2 separate regions of the Homo sapiens genome follow, and region 1 is linked to region 2. Evidence: promoter capture Hi-C in 16 types of primary human blood cells and fetal thymus (Javierre and others, 2016). All regions are on one chromosome and are shown on one strand. Each heading gives the region's core, a stretch centred on a gene start or on the middle of the fragment in contact. The rest is flanking DNA. Distances are from core to core; before and after follow the strand shown. Region 1 holds the start of ASNS (asparagine synthetase (glutamine-hydrolyzing)). Region 2 holds the start of DYNC1I1 (dynein cytoplasmic 1 intermediate chain 1).

Evidence for each region. The method cuts DNA at HindIII sites, captures the fragments that hold promoters and counts their contacts. A CHiCAGO score of 5 or more calls a contact.
Region 1: a contact is called between the fragment with the promoter of ASNS here and the fragment with the promoter of DYNC1I1 in region 2, in 1 of 17 cell types (M0 macrophages). The highest score is 5.4, in M0 macrophages.

The regions. Positions count from the first base shown.
Region 1 is chr7:97,870,332-97,875,016 of GRCh38, forward strand. It overlaps ASNS (asparagine synthetase (glutamine-hydrolyzing)), which reads right to left and starts at 2,077. Exons shown (of 13, transcript NM_001673.5): 1 at 2,020-2,077. All of the region lies in intron 7 of CZ1P-ASNS (CZ1P-ASNS readthrough), which reads right to left. RefSeq lists silencers at 1,799-1,908, 2,219-2,308 and an enhancer at 1,958-2,673. The HindIII fragment of the contact is 3,580 bases long and covers 1-2,422 here.
Region 2 is chr7:95,770,561-95,775,217 of GRCh38, forward strand. DYNC1I1 (dynein cytoplasmic 1 intermediate chain 1) reads left to right here and starts at 1,994. Exons shown (of 17, transcript NM_001135556.2): 1 at 1,994-2,213. The HindIII fragment of the contact is 2,753 bases long and covers 1,160-3,912 here.

The DNA.
Region 1 (4,685 bases), core at 827-3,326, 2.1 Mb after region 2:
TAACTATTTTGGTGTTTTTTTTAAAAAAACTGCGAATTGCAGCAAATGCCCAAATAGTTTGGGATAAACACCCTAAGGAAAAAATATACATTCAAGTTGCATAAGTCACTTTGAGCTATTCTTTGATGATATTTCATTTATATCTAAAAGAACCAAAGGTTTAGCTGGCTTTTCCGGAAAACCAGAACCAAATAATATATGGTTAGAATGAAAATCATCTCAAGCAATTTGGAAATGAAGTACCACATGTCCTATGCTGTCTCTTCCATGCACTTGACCAAATAGCCCAAATAGCCTATAACAAATTATTTGAGATTTACTGGAAAAATTCCATAAGATTTAAATGAGATGACTACTAATAAGCCATCTGCCTTTGACTCTATATCAATTTAAAACGGGTTAGGAAAGTGCTTTGAAAATCAAGTATGGTCATCAGGGAATCAGTTACCTAAGTCTTCTTAACGCTGCTTAGTGAATCCCTGTATTAATCCTGCTATAATAAATACATTCTAACCACTAAACTGGAGGGGAAAAAGGGAGAACAAAGAGGCATGTAAAGTACACTTATTTTTTCTAGTAGGAAAAAGCCAATTAAAACTATAACCTATTATTTTTATTGGAATCAGTCTTATAGGAGGGCAAAGTTCCTACTGCCGCTACCTGTTCTCAATATTTTTCTTATTTCTTCCTAAACTTCTAGAACAGTGCTGTCCAATAAATATATATGTAAGCCACATATGTAATTTTAAATATACTAGTAGCCCCATTAAAAGAAAAAGGTGAAATTAATTTTAAATAAACTTAACTCAGTATGTCCCAAATAGTAACATTTTAACATATATGTAATCAATATAAAATATTATCGAGCAGATATTTTACACTGTTCTTCCTACTCCAACGACAAAATCCAGTGTATTTAACACAATACATCTCAGTTAGGACTAGCCAGCACTTCAAGTGCTCAACAGTTACAGGTGGCTAGCGCCTACCGAACTGGACATGGCAGTTTCAGTGCATTTAATTTCTATTCCACTTAGTGCTACTTACAACTTCACCCTCTCCCTTTACTTTTATATTAAGATCTCAGTAAGTAACCAACTACAGACAGGTTCAAGCCCTACTTTACCTCTAATTACTCTTACAGCAATGCTATGAATCATGATTTAAAATTTAAAAAAAAAAACTGCTGTTAAATTATTAGTCAAGCGCCCAGGGCAATGGACAGTAAAGAAATAATGTAGGCCACGGGCCGAGATGAAAACTGTCCTTTTTATTTAAAGCTATAACAATCATCTGAAGCCAGCCCTGCAAAATGACAGCCATTGAAAAAGGCATGCTAGTTCTTTTGCCTTTTTCTGTACTTGGTCGCCTGTGTCCCTAAACAGACCTCTTCTCGGCAGGGTTTGCTCAGCAAGTCACTTGATGAGTCTTGCAGTCTACAGAGACAGGTGGGGACTGGTGGGGATGGCGGGGTGAGAGGGGAGGAGGAGGGTGAGCGGTCCAGGTGAGGAGGGGGGCAGTTGAAGGTGAAAGCAGACACCGAGACGGTGATAAGGCCGCAGTCTCTTCCTAGATCAGGACCACGCGACACCTGACTGCGCCCTGGCCACGAGCACGATCCGACCCGTCCGCCGCAGGGACCCGGACCGCGAAAATGTCCACAGGCTTCGACGCCACATAGTAAAAAAAAGTACACATATAACATTTACAGGGGCTCAAACTGCCGCTGCCTCCTCTCCGGAGCGGTCCGGCCTGCCGGCCGCGGTTCCCTCTCGATGCTTCAGGGAACCAGGACAGAAAGGTCCTTCCGCTAGCTGTCAGGTGCGTAACAATCGCTAGGCGTCCGCCCCGCCCTCCCTACCGCAGGAGCCGCAGCATCAGCAGGCGCCCGCGAACCGCGTCTGCCGGGTGCCAGGCTGAAGACCGCATCCTCCACCCCTTCCTTCCGGAGCAGCCCCAGGGCACGCGAGGAGGATGCTGGCGCGGGGCGCAGGGCACGGGGCGCAGGACCCGGCTCACCTGGGCGTAAGCAGGTCAGGGTGATGTGGCGGGCTGAGGCCAGGGATGTGGACAGCTTGACGGGCGGCGAGGCCGCTGGCGCTTATACCGACCTGGCTCCTGTAACGCGTGCGGGAAGTTTCATCATGCCTGCGAGGACCAACCAGCGCGCACAGGGGCGGGGCCGCGGGGTGTCCGGGGCGGAGCAGGACTAAGTGGGGCGGCGGAAGGGCGCAAGGAGGAGCTCTTTTGTTTCCAGCGCCTTGCGTCTCAGTGCGCCTGTTTAAGGATAGCCTCAGAGCTCCGCCCAGGCTACCTGCTGTTCTGACAATTAGGGAGGCTTCTGAACTTGGTTTGTTCTTCGGGAAATCATCACCGTTTTTTTGTTGCACTGCCGTCTGATTTATTATGCAGTGCAGAGAAAAGCTTGTCCTAAGAAACTGATGCGTGAGGCCTAAAATGTCCTTATAAGATCTATTAATAAATCGGGGCCAGGAGCGGTGGCTCACGCCTGTAATCCCAACACTTTGGGAAGCCAAGGCAAGAGGATCACTTGAAACCAGGAGTTCAAGACCAGCCTGGGAAACACAGCGAGATCACATCTCTATAAAAATTGGTGGCACACCATGGTAGTCCCAGCAACTCAGGAGGCTGAGGCAGAAGGATAGTTTGAGCCCAGGCGTTTGAGGCTGAGGTGAGCTCAACTCCAGCCTGGGCGACAAAGGGAGACCCCCATCTCTAAAACAATAAAATCTAAATCTAATTGATACATGAAGCCAAAATACATCAGTGGTCCTTAAACATTTTAAGTACAAAGATTCCTTTTAGAATCTCAAAAAGGATTTTGTCAACTTGCCTCCACAAGATGATTATGTGCTTTTAAGTATCTCTTTGATGAAGAAAAGACATCACGATTTTTAAAAAGTATCATAACACTCTTAAATCGTATTTTACTAATTACATCAGCACCGAAATAAATTGAGAAATAGTAAAATTATATGTGCACGACCTACTAAGATCAGACTACAGTCAATGCTTGGAGAGCATGCAGGTTTGATATCCCCATACAACGCATTCCTGACTAAATCAAAAACGTCAACAATTTAAAATCCCTAAGAACAGAAGATGGAGTAGTCGCTTAGTAGTTACAGGCAAGAGCAAAGATGAGAGATGACTTGTTCTAAGGTTCATTGTTGCTGGAAAGTTTTCAGTATCAAACAGACTTTGCTGTATCCTAATTGACGTACTTTAAACCTGAGAGCAATGTGGGAAAGTAGGTCTTCTATCTACATTTTACAAATGAAAAAATAAGACTCAGAAAAGTTGAGGGATTTATCCAAACACAGCTTCACAACAGTAGAGAACTGAGTCATAATCTGTGTAAACCCAGAGCCCATTTCCCGTAGCATCTTGCCTATGTAGTGAAAGACAGGTTCCCCTGCTTGGTGTGTTACCTAGTGTGCTTCCTTGTGCTGCGTATCTCCTGCTTGTCCGTCCAGAGCTCTACACTTCTCCACCTCACTTTCTATCCTGGCTCCCTTGCCCTCCTCTTTCAGGGAGAGTGTGCAAAGGCAGACATTTCAAGGAGATGCAAAAGGTGAAATTAAAATTGCTAATGAAGTTTTGGCACCATTGTCATTGATAACATCTTATCAGGAGACAGGGTTTTGAGATCAACCGGTCTGACCAAAGTTTATTAGGTGGGAATTTTCTCTTCCTAATAAGCCTGGGAGTGCTATGGGAGACTGGAGTTTATTTCACCTCTGCAGTCTCGACCATAAGAGACAGGTACGCCCCGGGGGGCCAGTTTAGAGACCTACCCCTAGGTGCGCATTCTCTTTCTCAGGGACGTTCCATGCTGAGAAAAGGAATTCAGCGATATTTCTCCCATTTGCTTTTGAAAGAAGAGAAATATGGTTCTGTTCTGCCTGGCTCACCGGCGGTCAGAGTTTAAGGTTATCTCTCTTATTCCCTGAACAATTGCTGTTATCCTGTTCTTTTTTCAGGGTGCCCACATTTCATATTGCTCAAACACACATGCTGTATAATTTGTGTACTTAACGCAATTATTACAGGTCCTGAGACGATATACATCCTTCTCGGCTGACAGGATTAAGAGATTAAAGTAATGACAGGCATAGGAAATCACAAGGGTATTGATTAGGGAAGTGATAAGTTTAGTCCATGAAATCTTTACAATTTATGTTTAGAGATTGCAGTGAAGGCAGGCATAAGAAATTACAAAAGTATTAATTTGGGGAACTAATAAATGTCCATAAAATCTTCATAATCCACGTTCTTCTGTCATGGCTTCAGCTGGTCCCTCCGTTTGGGGTCCCTGACTTCCCGCAACACAGCACAGTGCCTGGCACAAAAGAGTTGCTCAATAAATACATCAGGATGAATAGATAAATACACGGATAGGCACTTTGAACTACAGATGAGCTTAAATACTTTGTGTTTTTCTTAGTCAAACATGTGCAATTAAGCATGTGATAAATGTTATGATGACCACACGTGTGTCTTGCCTGATGTTCTTTGCAATCACTAAATGAAGTCAATTGTGCCTGTTTTGACAGTTCTATTTTCAACCTAATGATCTGTTTATTTTAACTTCTGGCTGTTGGCTTTGTTTGGGTTTGTTAGCCTGACGAAGTGGTAGATATTGGTATTTGCTCTTTTGTTTA
Region 2 (4,657 bases), core at 744-3,243:
ATGGCACACTGGTGAGCATCTCTTATGGAAAGCTGCCTCCGCCCCATCCCTGTTTTAGCTAGTCTTCAATTTGGTCCAGTGTCTAAGTCCCAGCTCCTACTTCGTGGGCACTCAACAATGCCATGTTGAGGCCAGGCATGGTGGCTCACACCTGTAATCCCAGCACTTTGGGAGGCTGAGGCAGGCAGATCACTTGAGGTCAGGAGTTCGAGACCAGCCTGGCCAACATGGAGAAATGCCATCTCTACTAAAAATACAAAAATTAGCCGGGCTAGGTGGTGTGCACCTGTAATCTTAGCTACTCAGGAAGCTGAGGAAGGAGAATCGCTTGAACCCAGGAGATGGAGGTTTCAGTGAGCCGAGATTGTGCCACTGCATTCCAGCCTGGGCATCAGAGGGAGACTCTGTCTCAAAAAACAAACAAACAAACAAACAAAACAACAACAACAACAAAAGCAATGCCATGTTGGAAAGACCAAAATACAAAGTAGTTAAAGTACAAGCTGCAGATGAATGGGAATTCAAATCTCAGCTAGATCACTCAGTGGTTATGGAACTTGGGCAAGGGAGTTAACTTCTTTGACTCAAGTTCCTTTTCTGGAGGCATGGCATTCGTTATATGTACTACATAATGTTATAGAAAAGTTAAAGAAAAATGTATGTAGAATTGACATGTATTAAATATTCAGTCACGGTAGTGGCAAATATTTATTTCCTAGATTTTTCCTTCTGGAATACCTTGAATACCTTCTACCTAGACATTTAACCTCTTCATTTCTAGCCATAGTTACAATCGCAGTAGATTAGCCAGGGAGGCCAAAGTTTTAGAATAAGGATGGCCATTTACAGATGAGTATGTATTCATACTGTATTCATACTAGAATCTGTATTTATTTTGAAATTACTGTAGTACTTGTGAATTAATAAGTTCATAAATATTTACTGAGTACCCATTATATATCAGAATGCTGTTCTAGATACTAAGAATACAGCAGTGAACAAGATAGCGTCCCTGCCCTCCACTAATTTACATTCTAATGTGTAAAAATACACCACAGATGTGCAAGAAATATGATGAAAAGCTCATCTATAAAATGATACCAAACCCCCTAACATCCCAAACTCAATTTTTTGGCCTTATAACTTAGCTGTTGTGGCAAGCTTGTTTTTTGCAGAGTCCAATAATAGTTACCCAGATTTTTTTTTGTTTCCCCGAGACGGAGTTTCGCTCTTGTTGCCCAGGCTTTGAGTGCAGTGGCGGGATCTCGGTTCACCACAACCTCCGCCTCCCGGGTTCAACCATTCTCCTGCCTTAGCCTCCCGAGTAGCTGGGATTACTGGCATGCACCACCACGCCCGGCTAATTTTGTATTTTTAGTAGAGACGGGGTTTTTTCATGTTGGTCAGGCTGGTCCCCCAACTCTCGACCTCAGGTGATCCGCCCTCCTCGGCCTCCCAAAGTGCTTGGATTACAGGCGTGAGCCACCGCGTCTGGCCAGTTACCCAGATTTTTAAAAGCTGGGACTTTAAGAAGCAATGTGAAGACAAGCTACACACACACCACACCACACACACACACACACACACACACACACACACAGACACACACACTTAATTCTTTTTTCTTCTAGAAAAATTGGGATCAATCAGACCTATAAGTCATTGTGTACAACAGGTAGATCTGAGCTTTATTTCTATTTAAATGACCTTAAGAAGTGTAGTTGCCTGGGAGTGAAAGTTGTTCAATGGTGGCATTTCAGCAGGAGCTCCCAGAATATTGAAGCTCTTCTCTTTGCAGCAACTGAGGTCTAAGTCCTACCGACGTTAGAGGGATAGACGAATTGACCTTTCCAGGTCCTCTGCTCGCCACCAGCCTACGGAGCGGCGCCACCCCCTCCTGGCGAGACCGGGCGCGGAAGACGCGGAGCGGAGGCCCTCCCTCAGGAGGGGCGCGGGCGTGGAGGGCGTGGGCAGGGGGCGGGGCGAGCCCCGCAGACTGAGTGCTCCGGGGAGCTGTCAGTGTCAGGCTCTGGGAGAGAGGAAGTGATCGCTCCCGGAGGAGCGCGAGCCGAGCGGCCGGCGCAGCGTGAGACAGCACATCCTGCCCGCGCCGGCCCCGCCACCTTCGGGAGCCGCCTGCACCAACGCTGCCGCCGCCCAGGAGCCGCCGCCGGCTCGGGGAGCCCAGTTCCGCCGCTGCCGAGCGCGTCCAGGTAAACTGGAGCGGGATGTCGCCGCTCCCCGGACGGCCGCCTCCGCACCTCTCCCCAACCCTCCCCACCCCGGTGTCGTCTGCGCTGGGAACCAGGCTGGAGCCGAGGCCCCTGCAGCCGCAGCCGGACCCTTGTCCTGGCCCCCTGCCCAGGCTCCTGCGTGCTCCGCTGAGCCCGAAGGCGGCCAAAGCCCCCCAGTGACACCCCCCTCTCGGCAGAGCCGAGAGACTAGGGCAGAGAAGGAAGGGTCGTGGTGTCACCACCTGGTCGCCCACCTTGTGGGCTGGGAAGGGCGTCCCAGTGCGCCCCGCCTCGGTCTTCCCCGGGGGAGCAGTGGGCGAGCGGCGCTGAAATCTGCACCCCTCTGGGCCACCGGCTGACTGCCCCTGGAGGAGGGGGAAAGCTGCAGAGGGAGGGGAAAGGATGCTGTTTGATTACATTTCGAGCTGTCTGCAAAGCTCTTAGATGCTGTCACTACCCTGCAAGTCGGAGGGAGCGAATTCACTTCCAGCAGGGCATTAATTAAACACTTCAAAGCGAGAAGATGCCAGTTTCTCTCTGCTGCGAAAAAGTGTGGCTGGGGGATGTTGTTTTGGTAAACACCTTCACGGCCGCCTGGCTCTCCTTCCCCCGCTCCCATTCGGAATCGCTCTGGCCTTATAAATCCGTGCGTCGTCATCATAAGGGCAGTGATCCTGGCAGCGCTGATGGGAACTGAGTGTGCGGGAGTCTCATGACTTGTACCTTGGCTAATAAGATTAAACAGAAGCCCAGGATCAGGACAGGAAATTACATAGGAGATCAGAGACTCAACAACATGCAGAAGATGGAATATATTCGCTATTCTGGCCTCTACTAATCCTAGGTAAGGGGCAGGAACAAGTAGCCAGCCATTTTCTTGCTTGGAATGCCTTTCAAGTGGGCATTGTAGACTTATTGTAGTTCAGAGTTGTGAAGAATTGCTTCCAAATATTCCAGATTAGCAAAAAGTATAGCTAACAGTAAGGCATAGGCAACTGCAGGTGACAACCCAACGCCTGATGTTAACACAGACATGGGTAACCAGTCTGTGTACATACTTTAATTGTGGAAATTATAGAGATATACGTTGATCAGTGTTAGTAAATTTGAAAAGGGAATATTCAGTGCAATTTGCAAGCTGAGGGTACTGGTGAGAATGTAATACTACCTCTAATTATTTAAAATGCCAAGTTTGTTCAAAAAGGTTTGGTGTGGAAAAAGGGGTCCTAACTCAGCTCTTTTGATCATATTTCTCAATAAAATAAAATCTGAAACACCTGCCACTGAGTTACCACATGTTCTCTTCATAAGAACTAACTCTCGAATATTTGTTTAGGTCTGAGGATCCAGTGCTCCAAGACCCATTCCTCTTAAAACCTCTAGCACCATCCTTGGGAAGTTTTTAGAATACAGTTGGGGGTCGAATGCAGGCTTTTCCAGCCTGTCAAGCTCTTAGCCCTGTTTCTGGCCCACAGCATCTCAGCATTTTACTTTGTCTTCCTTGTCTCAGGCCTCAGATACAAATGCACTTGCTTCCTCCTTCTTTGGACCTCTGAGATGCTGCAGCCGCTGGTGCACAGTCCCCTGGAGGAGGAGGGGCTGGCTTGCAGTCCTTCCCCACCCCCAGCCTTTCCTCCCTCTTTGCTATTGAAAACATGCATGATTGTTTTACTGTTAAAGCTTTAGGTAAATCACCAGTAGGGATATGAGCAGAGAAAATAAACTCGACCCGCAGGAAAAGGGGCAGAGTTCTTAAAGTAGTGGTCCATGGTCTTCAGTTTCTGACTAACTTCGAAGAGAGTAAGAAGTCACTTGGCATTTCAGTCACCATGTTTTATATCTCAGAGAAGGCTCTAGGGTCTTTCTTCCCAATCCCTCTGCTTCCAAAAATACTCCTTCCCGAGTCTACGTTTAATAAATGAGCCTTGCCTTTGATGACAGTGCTGAGTCAAGGATCCAGCCTGGGTGCTGCTCTGTCCATAAAAACAGCGATGTAGACCAGTCTTGTAAAATGCATGCCAAATCTGAAATCTAGGTACCCCTCTTAGTACAGACAGTGTGCACCGGCTTCATCCTGTTACCGTTTTCTCCAGTTTCTTTGTTGTTTAACGTAGCATCAAATGAAAAGGTCACATGCATCTGTTTCAAAATCTGTTTCAAACAAATATATTCCTTCATTACTTTATTCTCCCTACACTTGAAACAAAGATTGATAACAGTAGCTAAAATATATTGAGCACTTTACCAGGCATTGCATTTTAAAATACTTTCACAGGTGTTAACTTATTTAAACATCACAAAAATCTTATGAGGCAGATATTGTTTGTAATCCTGTTTTACAGATGAGGAAACTAAGACACAAAGGTGTCAAGTAACTTTTGCTCAGCTACTAAGTTGAGCAAGGCAGCATTTGAATCAAGGCC